Linked DNA regions of Homo sapiens: region 1 is linked to region 2. The links are contacts of gene promoters, found by promoter capture Hi-C in blood cells and fetal thymus (Javierre and others, 2016). All regions are on one chromosome and are shown on one strand. The core of a region is centred on a gene start or on the middle of the fragment in contact, and the rest is flanking DNA. Distances in the headings are between cores, read along the strand shown.

Region 1 (7,046 bases), core at 719-3,218, 250 kb after region 2:
CCCGGGACTTGTTCCTTCAGCACCGCGTCGCCCTGGAAGCGCCACCGCCCCCCGCCCCCTCCGCGTACCCGGTCGGGGAGCGCAGAGCGCGGAACCCGGGACCCCACCCAGCCCGCCAGGAGCAGAGCACGGTGGGGGTCCCGGGCTGATCCTGCTCAGGTTCCCAGCCGCACCCCCTCCCCGGCTCCAAGCCCGGCCCGCTGCTCCCCAGACGTGCGCTGGGTGCCCGGGCGCGCACCTTGAGGGCGGGCGGCTCCCGGACGTCGCGGGTGGGGACGCACAGCAGTAGGAGGCCGGCGAGGCCCGCGGCGGCCAGCAGCAGCGGCGGCAGCAGTGACCGCACCTTCCCGGCCATGGGCGGGCGGGCGCGCGGGAGGACGATGCGTGGACCCGGAGAGTGCGGGGAGCCGGAGGCGGAGGCGGGCGGGGCCGCGGGACCGCGGGGTAGGGGCCCCGGGGCGGGACGAGGGGCGGGAGGCCGGGCGGGCCCGCCCATCACCGGCCACGCCCACGGGCGGACAGGTTTCGCCTCCGCTCCCAAGCTTCCGCCGTCCGGCCCGCGCAGGTGAGAGACGCGGGCGCGGCTGAGTCACCAGCACCGCCCCCCGGCTCCCGGGTCTGAGCCCGGGCGCCCCGCGGCTATGGCCCACCTTCCCCTTCCCGCCCACTCAGCAAGGGGATCCCCCGGCCGTGGAGGCAGGAGACCTGGCGTGGGGGTGGGCGGGCGAGGCTGGCTCGGAGGGTCCTGTGCTGGAGAGCCGCGCTTTTCCCGGGCCCGGGAAAGGAGGCCAGACTCGCTTGCAGGAATGAGGCACTGTCGGCTGCGGAGCCACGCGGGGCCCGGGCTGGGGACTCAGGAGGAAGCCGAGGGTCAGCACCTGTTTGTGGAGCAGGGCCCTGAGCGCCAACTCCCAGGGCTGGTGAGGACCAGGCTGGCCTGCGGGATGCCCTCCCGGCCAGCAAGGATCCGCCAGCCTGCGGCGCTGAGCCAGCGCAGGTCAGCTCCAGAGACACGCAGCTGACCCAGGCCAGAACTACCCTTGAGGCCCAGTCAGATCCACCTCACCTGGGCCCTGTACTGAGGTGAAGGTGAGGACGCAGGAACGGGGAAGGGGAGGGACGGCCCAGGTCACACCGAGCCGAGAAACAGGAGAAGCAGCACAGACCGGGCCAAAGGTCCATACCTCCCAGCCCAGGGCCTCAGCCGCGCCTGCTGCCCCCTCGGCCTGAGGGGAACAGAGGCTTGGGCTGCGGAGGCCAGAGGAGGCTTCCCCAGGACGGAAACAGGTGGGGCCTCTACGTGGCCTGAAAGGCAAGGAAGAGGGTCCCCAGGCCAAGCTTGGGGTGCGGGTCAGCAACAGGCTTCTGGGGACGGCTGGGGCAGGCGAAGCGCAGCTGGCCCCAGACGCAAGCCCTGCTCCTCCGTCCCACGACATGGCTGGCCTTTCGGCTCTGCAGCCTCACAGGCCCCGCATCCCAGCCCGGCCAGGGGCCACCCCCTTTGCGCCTGCTGCAAAGTGGGAATTCTTGTCCCAATAATTCCAGCCACACAGCGTCAGGGAGCCACGAGGCAAGGCCACCAGGGAGTGCAGGCTGCTGGGGCCCAAAGGGCAGCCCCATGGGGCAGGGTCCAGACCATGCCCGGCCTTCTGGAACGGGCAGTGACAATTGTGCTGGGATTGCTGCCTGGGCTGAGGGTCTGGCGCCACAGGCCCAGTAAAGGCATCTTTCTTCCAGCTCAGGACCCCAAAGGGAGGGGTGGGAACCCTGGGAAGCCTCTCTGCTGCCTCAGCCTCACAGCCCAGCCTGGCGGGGCTCCAGCAGGCAATCTCTGGGTGTTGCCGGTGCTAAGCTCCAGGCCCCAGGCCCCAGTTTCCCCCCACACACCCCAGGCCTTTCTTCCACCCCTGACCGCCCAGAGGAGGGAGAGGCACGCACAGTGCACATCATGCCTGAAAAGGAAGGAACAAAGGCCGCCCAGAGGCAGGGTGCTGCGACCCCCACTGGCCTGCGGTACCCCGCTTCCCTCCAGGCCCAGCGGGGCTTCCTGGTGTTCTGGACTCTTTTCATGGACAAAAAGCTCAAGCCAGGGAGTGGGAGGTCTGCCAGGCCTGAGAGGATGGGGAGGGAGAGGGGAGCTGGACTCTGCCCCGGGGAGACAGGCTCATGGCCGAGTGCCCAGCTTCGCCTGCGGAGGGAGAGGCAGGGAGCCCAGAGCGGCCAGGACAAAGGCTGAGGCTGAGCTCTCTTTGAGACGGAGTGAGGGCGGGGGAACGCCCCTTCCTGGCATGGACTCAGGGACCCTGGAAGGCAGACTTGGGAGAGCGTCAGAGGGAAGCTGGCAGGAGCTGAAGGGGTGGAGGGGCCTCTGGGTGGGGCAGCTCTCGGCTTCCAGGACCCTCTCGGGGATGGGGCCTCCAGATGTGCTGCACATGACCCCGGCTGAGCTGGGAACATGCGGATGCAGAGAGGTTAGGGGAGAACCCCTGGGGGAGGGAACTCGGAGCCTCCCGCCCACGCAGGGCTCAGACCTCCCAGGGAGGGGGGCTTTCCTGAGGCCTGCTGACATCTTGGCTGCCCTGCCTCAGTCTCCACATCAGAAGCTTGTGCTGTGTGGCTCACGTCTGTAATTCCAGCACTTTGGGAAGCTGAGGCAGGTGGATCACTTAAGGTCAGGAGTTCAAGACCAGCCTGGCCAACATGGTGAAACGCCGTCTCTAATAGAAATACAAAAATTAGCCGGTTGTGGGCCGGGCGCGGTGGCTCACTCCTGTAATCCCAGCACTTTGGAAGGCTGAGGCGGGCGGATCATCAGGTCAGGAGATCAAGACCATCCTGGCTAACGCAGTGAAATGCCATCTCTACTAAAAATACAAAAAATTAGCCGGGCGTGGTGGCGGGCACCTGTAGTCCCAGCTACTCGGGAAGCTGAAGCAGGAGAATGGTGTGAACCCGGGAGGCGGAGCTTGCAGTGAGCCAAGATCGCGCCACTGCACTCCAGCCTGGGTGACAGAGCGAGTCAAAAAAAAAAAAAAAATTAGTCGGCTGTAGTGGCAGACACCTGTAATTCCAGCTATTTGGGAGGCTGAGGCAAGAGAATCGCTTGAACCTGGGAGGCAGAGGTTGCAGTGAGCTGAGACTGCACCACTGCACTCCAGCCTGGACGACAGAGCGAGATTCCATCTCAAAAGAAAAAAAAAAAAGAAACTTGTGCTGTGGCCGAAACACCTTGATGGTTTAATTGTGAAAGGCCTTTCACTCACTGCTCCCTTTCTGCAGGTGCTCATTAAGTCATTCAACAAACGCTTGCTGAGTAGTACTCCTGGGTGCCCAAAGCACGCCAGGCTCCATGCATGCACAGGGAGCCCTGTGGGGAGGGCACCCACTGGCCTGGGGAGAGCAGACTTTGCAAAGGCCCACGGGAGGCGGGGAAGCCTGTGCTGTCCTGTTCGAGGTCGGAGACACAACAGAATGGGAGGTGCACATATGCACAGTTGGTAAGAGCAATGCCAGGGTGGCAGCAGGACCCCATTGGTGGTCTCTGATGTGCTGGACGTGCTGTTCTGGGACTTGCTTCTTTCACTCACGTTACGCGTTTGGGATTCACCCTGTTGACACTGAGAGGTGTGGCTTGTTTGTTCCTTGCTGTATTCCATCCTGTGAGTGAGAACATGCAGACGGCGTGTCGCTGCAGCTGGTGAACACACAGTGTCTGGCTTTAGGCTTTGCTGAGATTGCTGCTCTGCACATATACACTCTTTTTTTTAATTTTATTTTTTATCTGAGGTGGAGTCTGGCCCTATCGCTCAGGCTGGAGTGCAGTGGCGCGATCTCAGCTCACTGCAACCTCCACCTCCTGGGTTCAAGCGATTTCCCGCCTCAGCCTCCTGAGCAACTCGGATTACAGGCGCCTATAACCATTCCCCACTAATTTTGTATTTTTAGTAGAGACAGGGTTTCACCATATTGGCCAGGCTGGTCTCAAACTCCTGACCTCAGGCGACCCGCCTGCCTCGGCCTCCCACAGTGCTGGGATGACAGGTGTGAGCCACCGCGCCCGGCCTCTCCGTCTGCGTCGGCCTCCCACAGTGCTGGGGTGACAGGTGTGAGCCGCTGCGCCGGCCGCATGTGTGCTCTTGAGAGCACTTCTCTGGGGAGCATCCCGGATCTGAACTGCTGGTTGTCAGGCAAGTGTGTGTTCTGCTTCTCTAGCAAGTGCCAAATTCTTTTCTGAACGATGGCTCTAGCTGGCACTGTGAGCATTTTATTTCATTTTATCTTATTTTATTTATTTACTTTGAGACAGACTCTTCCTCTGTTGCCCAGGCTGGAGTGCAGTGATGTGATCTCGGCTCACTGCAATCTCCGCCTCCTGGTTCAAGCAATTCTTCTGACTCAGCCTCCCAAATAGCTGGGACTACAGCCGTGTGCCACCAGGCTAATTTTTTTGCATTCTAATAGAGACGGGGTCTCACTGTGTTGCTCCCAGGCTGGTCTCAAACTCCTGAGCATCCGCCCATCTCGGCCTCCCAAAGTGCTAGGATTACAGGCATGAGCCACCGTGCCCAGCCTAATTTTTGTATGTTTAGTAGAGACGGGGTTTTGCCATGTTGGCCAGGCTGATCTCGAACTCCTGACCTCAAGTGATCCACCTGCCTTGGCCTCTCAAAGTGCTGAGATTATAGGCGTGAGCCACCAAACCCAGCCCCCCATCTCCTTTTATTGGAGACCGGGGCCTCACTATGTTGCCCAGGCTGGTAAATTCCTGGCCTCAAGCAGTCCTCCTGAGTAGCTGGGGACTAGAGGTGTGTGCCACACCCTGCCTGGCTTTGGCCTTCTTTGATTTTGAAACCGGCTCAATTGTCCCGTGGAACTGATGTTTATGGTTTCTTTGAATAAACACAGAAATTGATCCTCCTAGTCTTAAAATTTGAGAAAGTGACATTTGTCCTATTTGAGTTCCTTTCTCAGAAAACCAACCATGAGGCCCCCAGATAGAATGAAAGAGCTAAAACTCACCAGATCACGGTATCTTGACAATGAGACACCAGACCCCCCAGCTGTCAAGATTGCCTGGCCAACCACCAGCTTCCTGTTGACCAACTCCTCTTCTTCAGCTGCCCCTAATTCCTGTTTTCTCACACCTAGTTACGTGGCTTCCCTGCTCTATAAACCCCTAATTTCAGTGGGTCAGGGAGACGGATTTGAGACTGAGCACCCATCTCCTTGGCTGCGGCCGGCTTAAAGCCTTCCCCCTGGCGGTGCTCCTGGTCTCCGTGATTGGCTTTCTGTGCAGCGAACAGCAGGACCTGGACTGAACCCCTGGTGTTTTGGTAACAGTCTCTCCCCTCCCCTGCCACCTGCTGCCTCTTCCCTGTAAGTAGGTAACAGGCCTTTGGTTTGTTTGTTTTAGCAACAGGGTCTTGCTCTATTGCCCAGGCTGGACTGCAGTGGTGCAATCATAGCTCATTGTGGCCTCAAACTCTTGGCCTCGAATGGTCCTCCTGCCTCAGCCTCTGCAGTAGCTGGGACCACAGGTCCACACCATGGCTGGCTTCCCTTTGCCTTTTTTTTTTTTTTGAGACAAGGTGTTGCTGTGTCACTCAGGCTAGAGTACGGTGGCTCAATCTCAGCTCACTGCAACCTCTACCTCCCGTGCTCAAGGGATTCTTGTGCATCAGCCTCGTGAGTAGCTGGGACTACAGGCATGTGCCACCACACCCAGCTCATTTTTGTATTTTTAGTGGAGACGGGGTTTCCCCATGTTGGCCAGGCTGGTCTTAAACTCCTGGCCTCGGGTGATCCACCTTCCTCGGCCTCCCAGAGTGCTGGGATTACAGGTGTGAGCCACCGTGGCTGGCCTCCTCTATGGTTTTGATATCATGATGGTCTGACCTGTAATCCCAGTACTTTGGGAGACCGGCCTAGGCAACATTGTGAGACCTCGTCTCTACCAAAAACAAACAAACAAAAAAATTGCTTTAATTTTTTTTAAATTAGCGTAATATTTGGATTATCTGTTCCTGCAATTTATGGTAGAACTTGCCTGAAAAGGCCGGGTGCGGTGGCTCACGCCTGTAATCCCAGCACTTTGGGAGGCCGAGGCGGGCGGATCACGAGGTCAGGAGATTGAGACCATCCTGGCTAACACGGTGAAACCCCGTCTCTAGTAAAAATACAAAAAATTAGCCGGGCGTGGTGGTGGGCGCCTGTAGTCCCAGCTACTTGGGAGGCTGAGGCAGGAGAATGGCGTGAACCCAGGAGGAGGAGCTTGCAGTGAGCCGAGATCGAGCCAGTGCACTCCAGCCTGGGCGAAAGAGCGAGACTCTGTCTCAAAAAAAAAAAAAAAAAAACTTGCCTGAAAAAAAAAACACCTAGGCCCAATTTTTCTGTGGGAAGTTTTTTGTTTGTTTTGTCTTTAAGAGATGGGTTAGAGACCAGACTTACTATGTTGCCCAAGCTAGACTCAACCTCCTGAGCTTCAAAAATCCTCCCACCTCAGCCTCTGGAATAGCTGGGACTACAGGCATATGCCACTGTGCTGGCTTCTACAGTACTGTTTCCATTTCTTTGATAGTTACAGGGCCAGACCCCTATTAACTATTCTTCCTGAGCCAATTTTGTATTTTTTTCTTTTCTTTCTTTCTTTTTTGTTTTTTGAGATTTGTTATTATTATTTTTAGAGACAGGGACTCACTCTGTTGCCCAGGCTGGAGTGCCGTGGTGCAATCACAGGTCACGGCAACCTCCGTCTCCTGAGCTCACGTGATCCTCCCACTTCAGCCTCCCGAGTAGGTGGGACCACAGGGGCACATCACCACACACAGACAATTTTTTTATTTTTTGTAGAGGTGGAGGGTCTCCCTGTGTTGCCCAGGCTGGTTCCAAACTCCTGGGCTCGGGCAGTCCTCCCGCGTCAGCTTCCCAAAGTGCTGGGATTACAGGCGTAAGCCTGCCCATGTGGCTGATTTTGTATTTTTCTAGGAAGTTACCCACTCCAGCTGAATTGGCATAATCTCATTTAAAATATCCTCTTAGAATCAGCT
Region 2 (6,922 bases), core at 1-2,500:
ACACACCAGGTCCCTGGGCAGGGCCAGAGGGGAGATGAGACCCTCCTCCCGGCCTACAGAGAGAAGTGGTGCTCTCCAACACCCTCGATTTGAACAGCAAGCTGGCGTACTGCGAGGGGAAGCTCACGTACCTGGCTGACAGAGTGCAGATGGTGTCCAGGACCGAGGAGGTAGCCCCGGGCTGGGAGGAACCTGCACAGCCCACGTCCCCTCAAAGCTGACAGGCTCCCGTTCAGAGTGTCTGCACGGCTGAAGGGGGCTTTGCCCTGCAGGGCGACACAAAGGTGAGGGACACCCTGGAGTCCTCGACTCTGATGGAGAAGTACAACACCAGGATCAGCTTTGAGAACCGGGAGGAGGATATGATCGGTACAGGCCCCGGAACTGGGGCCCGGGCTGCAGGCGGGTGGCTGGAACACAGGTCGGGGTGGCGCCGGCTCCCATCCCACCGGGACATCCTGGAGGGACAGCGGGGCTACAGGGTGCATCAGTTGTACCTGCAGGACTTTAATTGATGGAGGTGACTTAGTGATGCCATGGGGAGGCTAAAGCCACTGAAATACCTTGTTAATTTCTCCGAAAGGAGGAGGCATGCCATGCCAGACGGGCCCGGAGGAGAGGCACCAGGGCTGGAGCAGGGAGGAGCGCGGTGAAGGCCTGGGCCGGAGCTTCCACTGGGGGTTCTGCGGGAAAGGCTAGGCAGGGCAGCGTGAGCCGCTGCGAATGGGCTGGGCTGAGTCCTCCCGGCACGCTGGGGCTGTCCCTGGGGCAAGGCACCTGGCCCGGGTCGGTGGAGGGCGGGGGCGAGAGGCGGGTCGGGCGGCTGCGCCTAGCTGGGCTAGCCCCGTGTGCGAGCCGCCGCCTCCGCCCGCAGACACCTTCCAGTTCCCCGACATGGACCACAGCTACGTCCCTTCGCGCGCCGAGATCAAGAGGCAGGCGCAGCGGCTAATCGAGGGGAAGCTCAAGGCGGCCAAGAAAAAGAAGAAGTAGCCCCGCCGCCCCGCTCCCTGCTTTGCTACACAAATAAACATTTTTCCAGGACTGCTGCGGACGCTGGGGCGACCGGGGTCTCGGAGAGGAGCACGGGACACGCAGGATCGGGGGAGGTTCTGCGTAAGGAGGCAGCCCGGGCCCGGAACTGCGCGCCAGAACCGCGTGCGCATGCGCCGACCGCGCGCGCCGCGCCCCCGCGGCCCTCGCGGCGCCCCGTAGCCGCGCACCCCTCCCGTCCCGCCGAGCCGGCGCCAAGATGGCGGCGCTGACTCCTGGAGAGCGGTCGCGCCGGAGGCCGCGGGGGCCGGAGCGGAGCAGCCGCGGCTGAGGTTCCCGAGTCGCCGCTCGGGGCTGCGCTCCGCCGCCGGGACCCCGGCCTCTGGCCGCGCCGGCTCCGGCCTCCGGGGGGGCCGGGGCCGCCGGGACATGGTGCCAGTCGCACCCCTTCCCCGCCGCCGCTGAGCTCGCCGGCCGCGCCCGGGCTGGGACGTCCGAGCGGGAAGATGTTTTCCGCCCTGAAGAAGCTGGTGGGGTCGGACCAGGCCCCGGGCCGGGACAAGAACATCCCCGCCGGGCTGCAGTCCATGAACCAGGCGTTGCAGAGGCGCTTCGCCAAGGGGGTGCAGTACAACAGTGAGTGCGGCGGGCCGGGGGGGCGCGGGAGCGCCGCGCGGGTCTCCGAACCCAGGCCCCGGGCGCCGCGCGGTGGTGGGTGTCGGTCTCACCTGCTTGCCGGTTGTGGGGTGCGCTGGGCCCGCCGGGCGCTCCGGGAGCGGGGGCGCGGGCCAGGGGACGCGAGGAGAGGCCAGGCCAGGGCCGGGTCCTCGCGGCCCCCGAGCCGCGGGTCGTTTCCCAGCCGCACTCGCCTGCCGCGTGTCGCTCCCGCCGCGCTGTGCAGTGGAGCGGGTCGGCGGCGGCGGGGTTGGCCCGGCTGCCCGGCCCGGGGGTGATTACATAATGCCAAGCAGGGCCCGCCGGCCCGGGGCGCCGCGCCCCCGACGCTCCACGGTGCCCAGCCCCGGGCACCACTCACCTGCAGGAGGTGCGGGGAACCCAGCCGGCCTTGGCGCTTTCAGCGGGATTTTTCTTTGTTGACTTCCTACTGAGTTTGAAGACAGAATATTAGCTACGCCACACATTCTCGCCTTTTTTTTTAAAAGAAGCGTTTGTAAGAGACGTATCTAGAAAAGCTCCAGAAGGCACGGGCTGACTTGCGACTGTAGGAGACATCCCATTTCTCGTAGGAAGGAGGAGTCATTTACGGACTCCTGAGTGCCTGGGACGCTCCATTCCTTTGTTATAAATTGTGTAAATTGTCCTCGACCTCTTATGAGTTTTTCCATCTTGCGGGCTCTTTCCCAGTAGTTTTTGAAAGCTTTTATGTGGTTCCCTGTTTTGACATTGCTTCCCTCTTAGCCATTTCCGTATGTTTCTATGAGGTTTTAGGACGCTACGCCTATCCAGTTTTTTGGTCACTTTAAGGGGAGCCTTAGAGCCTCCGTGATATTTCCATGGTAATGTAGAATTTTAAGAACTAATGATCAGAAAGACTCTTGTGCAGGTTTAAAAGCAAGTTCATGAATTCGCGTGCCGTGTGCACGGAGAGAGGCCGTAGTTCCTGGGGCTGGAGCTAGTCCAGGAGGACAGTGAAGATGTCGCCTTCCTTAGTCCCCCGGCCTGTGAGCAAGAGGAAGCTGCAGACCACTCGGGCCACCCTCACCCAGACACCTTTAGCAGTAAGCAAGATAAAACAACTTCTTAAAGATAAGTCTGAGCATCTAGGTATGAAAGTTGGTGTCCGGGCCGGGCACGGTGGCTCATGCCTGTAATCCCAGCACTTTGGGAGGCCAAGGCGGGCAGATCACGAGGTCAGGAATTCGAGACCAGCCTGGCCAACATAGTGAAACACCGTCTCTACTAAAAATACGAAAAAAAAATTTAAAAGAAAGTTGATGTCCGAACCAAGGGCCGTATTGGCTTTTCTTATACTCTAGAACATACGACGACAAAGAAGATTTTGATGAAGTTCAAATTAGAGTCAGCGTGCTCATCAGAAAGAAAGCGCAGCCAACACGTTTAGGAACAGAAACGGATTATGTTGAAGACAAACAATCCATTGCGTTTGTGTTCAGTAACCCAAGCATCAAAGGAACTTGTGGCTGGGGAGAAGGCTTGACTATTTGAAATCTCAGGACTCCTCTGTCCAGGAGCTCCCAGACTCCCGTGGAGTGGAAGCCTGGGGGCTCGCTGAAGAAGTCACGTGACTGGAACGTGCTTAATGCTTGGCTGTCTGGTAAGGAAAATAAAGTGGTGCATTTTGAATAAAAATAAAAGCTGATTTTAAATGTGTTATAATTGAAACTTTATACATAGCTGGCATTCGGAGAAGAGAATATTGAGTCAAAATAACTGAGTTTACGCCAGTTTTTAGACTCTGCGTTTGGATCCTTTATTTAATTTTATTGCTTACAGTATTGGCTAAGCTCAGTATTAGTCCCTGGGAAATCAGGCCTGGACCTGGAAACTGTTCACCTTCTGAAAAGGCTCCCCGAGGGTCCTGGGCAAGGTCCACCTCATGCACCAGGACCACCCCTGTGTGGTCCTGGGCGAGTGTGACTAAAAAGGGCAATGGGGTCCTTCCAGAGGAGAAAAGCCAGTCTCCAGTACTTGGAGAACAGGTTATGATCTCCTAGAACTGAATGAAAGGTGGTGAGACAGAGAGAAATTTGAATTTGTACCTAAATTACATTTTAGAAAGATGTTATCTTTATAGCTGAATAACATGCAATTTTAAAACTTTTGAGTTTCTGTGTTAGAATAGAAAGTTTCTAGTATTTCTTTTCTTTTCTTTTCTTTTTTGAGACAGAGTTTTGCGTTTTGCTGTGTCTCCCAGGCTGGAGTGCAGTGGCGTGATCTCAGCTCACTGCAAGCTCCTCCTCCCGGGTTCACACCATTCTCCTGCTTCAGCCTCCCGAGTAGCTGGGACTATAGGCACCGGCCACCACGCCCGGCTAATTTTTTGTATTTTTAGTAGAGGCAGGATTTCACCGTGTTAGCCAGGATGGTCTCAATCTCCTGACCTCGTGATCTGCCCGCCTCAGCCTCTCAAAGTGCTGGGATTACAGGCGTAAGCCACCATGCCCGGCTTTCTGGTATTTATTTTCTCAAATATTTTACAGAGCGTAACAGACCAGCAATGTGATCAAGACAGAGTCGAGGGTTTTGGGGGTGAGAGTTTCTGGGAACTGCTGCGGGTTTCCAGGAGTCTGGGCTCTCCTCCTGGGCCCTGCATTTGCTCGGAGTTGCTAGTGGTCCCGGTAGACGTGTGGGACACCCACTGGTTTTAGAATAAAAACTCGAATGAGACATTGGACCATAATGGATGAAAAAGTCAAACTCTGTCAAATATTTGAAGAGATTTATTTTTGAGCTGAATATGAGTGACCATGGCTCGTGACATAGCCCTCAGGTGACCCTGAGGACATGTGCCCAAGGTGGAGGGCACAGCTTGGTTTTATACATTTTAGACATGAGACAGTAATCAAATACATTTAAGATATATGTTGATTTGGTCCACAAAGGCGGGACAACTTGAAGTGGGGGCTTCCAGGTCGGAGGTAGTTTAAAAAAATTGTGTTTTTTTGCCGGGCGCGGTGGCTCACGCCTGTAATCTCAGCACATTGAGAGGCCGAGGCAGGCGGACAACCTGAGGCCAGGAGTTCAAGACCAGCCTGGCCAACATGTCGAAACCCCGTCTCTACTAAAACTATAAAAATTAACCGGGTGTGATGGTGGGTGCCTGTAATCCCAGCTACTCAGGAGGCTGAGGCGGGAGAATCGCTTGAGCCCAAGTGGCAGAAGTTACAGTGAGCTGAGATTGTGCCACTGCACTCCAGCCTGGGTGACAGAGTCAGACCCTGTCTCAAAAAAAAAAAAAAAAACAATTGCACCACCACACCCAGCTAATTTTGGTATTTTTTAGAGAGACAGGGTTTCACCACGTTGCCCAGCTGGGCTCAGACCCCTCTACTCAAGCAGTCCGAACCCCTTGGCCTCCCAAAGTGCTGGGATTACAGGCGTGAGCCACCGCGCCTGGCCAGATTATGTTTCTTATCAGACTTAAAGTCAGTGTTGATGTTAAATGCTGGTGAGCTTTTCCTGAATTCCAGAAGGGAGGAGGCCACAATGAGGCCTGTCTGACTCCCCTCTTCCCATAATGGCCTGAACCAGTCTTTCAGATGAAATTTGGATGGCCCTGGCCTAGAAGAGGAAGTCCATTCAGATGGTTGGCAGGCCTTGGGATTTTAATTTTGGTTTACACAATTTTGAAATTATTTGCATATAAAATTATTAGGAAAATTATTTGAAATTATTTGGAAGAAAGATTGTTGCCTGAGTTGGTCTGTCCCTTTCTACTGTGACTGGACACAAAATATCAGTTGTATTTGGTGCAGAATTTTTCTGTGGAGTTGCTCCTGAGTGAGCATTATTGTGCAGCTCTGATACTGGCCTGGCCCAGGAGCTCGGACAACCAGAGTCCTCTCTGAGTAGACACTGGTGCGAATTTAGAAATGGGACTTAGCAGGCCGGGCACGGTGGCTCACACCTGTAATCCCAGCACTTTGGGAGGCTGAGGTGGGCGGATTACATGAGGTCAGGAGTTCAAGACCAACCTGGCCAACATGATGAAACTCATCTCTACTGAAAATATGAAAATTAGCCAGGTGTGGTGGCGTATGCCTGTAATCCCAGCTACTCGGGAGGCTGAGGCAGGAGAATCGCTTGAACCCGGGAGGCAGAGGTTGCCGTGAGCCAAGATCACACCACTGCGCTCCAGCCTGGGCGACAGAGTGAGACTTCGTCTTAAAAAAAAAAGAAAAGAAAGAAAAGTTTATATGAATATCCAGTCAAAACAAACAAGGAAGGTATTACCCTTGAAATGTTGTCTATACGAATTTCCAAGGAGACCACAGGACTGTAGACTGTCTTGGAATGTCCTCAGAGAGCTCTGTCATTGATCAGGTAACGGAATAAAAACCCCAGCGTCCTTTCTTTCAAATGGGAGAGGGAAAGACAAAGGGACAGAAGCCGTTCAAACTTTGTCTTCTTTCCTTGTGGCTTGTGGTCACCTCTGCCTCCCCAGAAGCTGCCTCGCCCACCAAAGCCTTCCTGGCTTCTGCCACCACCTCATCCTCCAAAGCTTCCTCTACCTCCATCACAACCCCAAAGCCACCTTCGCCCTTAGGTTTGGCCCAGTCCAAGTTACCTTTGTTTCCCTCAATTTCACCATCTTCCGCGGCCTCCTTGGCGCTTTTGGCATCCTCCTCACTGTTGCCATCTACAGAGCCAAAGCCTTTGGGGCACCCGGTTTCCTGGTTGGTGACTACCCTTGCCCAACAAAGCTGTCGAATGACTAAAGCCTCTTCAGTGGTGTCCTCAGACAGGCCTTTGACAGACAGTTTTAGATGGCTGGCTCCTGGCATCAGGTGGTCCTTGCAACTCCAGCCTGATTGCCCTGCCCCCAGTTTCCCTTTTATTACAGGAATTTAAAGCTGCTTTATCATCTTCAAATGAAGCGAACTGTAAGTGCATGCACACCCTTTAGATTTGCCATTTTGGTTCTGGGGCACTTTGATAAAAGTTGCCTTGTCTCAGATTCTTTCTGAAGAGTTTCTTCTGTTGCACTGTAGGAGAGGTTGCTTAAACCAGAGTTTTTGATTCACCCCTCCAAGTGGTCTCTCTAGTCTTGATTTAGACCTTTCTCTCCATGATAGTGCAGGGAAATAGATCGGCCATCCATCTCTGTTCCCTGCGTTTCTTCAGAAGTTTTCTCTGCATTAGCTTCTGTCTTAACCTCAATATAAGCAGTCCCTTTACTCTTCCCATCCTTGCTGACTAATCCAATCTCCACAGCATCTTCAAACAC

What was found. The method cuts DNA at HindIII sites, captures the fragments that hold promoters and counts their contacts. A CHiCAGO score of 5 or more calls a contact.
Region 1: a fragment that was not itself captured here is called in contact with the fragment with the promoter of RABL6 in region 2 in 1 of 17 cell types (endothelial precursors); the score reaches 5.1 in endothelial precursors.

What each region holds. Positions count from the first base shown.
Region 1 is chr9:137,053,643-137,060,688 of GRCh38, forward strand. ENTPD2 (ectonucleoside triphosphate diphosphohydrolase 2) reads right to left here and starts at 419. Exons shown (of 9, transcript NM_203468.3): 1 at 239-419. The coding sequence starts at 355. RefSeq lists silencers at 405-474, 575-654. The HindIII fragment of the contact is 1,265 bases long and covers 1,337-2,601 here.
Region 2 is chr9:136,806,698-136,813,619 of GRCh38, forward strand. It overlaps RABL6 (RAB, member RAS oncogene family like 6), which reads left to right and starts at 1,251. Exons shown (of 15, transcript NM_024718.5): 1 at 1,251-1,629. The coding sequence starts at 1,500. It overlaps CCDC183 (coiled-coil domain containing 183), which reads left to right. Exons shown (of 14, transcript NM_001039374.5): 12 at 60-170; 13 at 273-369; 14 at 875-1,044. The coding sequence ends at 993. CCDC183-AS1 (CCDC183 antisense RNA 1) reads right to left here and starts at 2,151. Exons shown (of 5, transcript NR_024580.1): 1 at 2,030-2,151; 2 at 132-505. It also overlaps the pseudogene LOC100422233 and the pseudogene NCLP1. RefSeq lists enhancers at 195-790, 791-1,387 and silencers at 663-892, 1,093-1,262, 1,313-1,372, 1,393-1,522, 1,533-2,062. The HindIII fragment of the contact is 3,360 bases long and covers 1-2,369 here.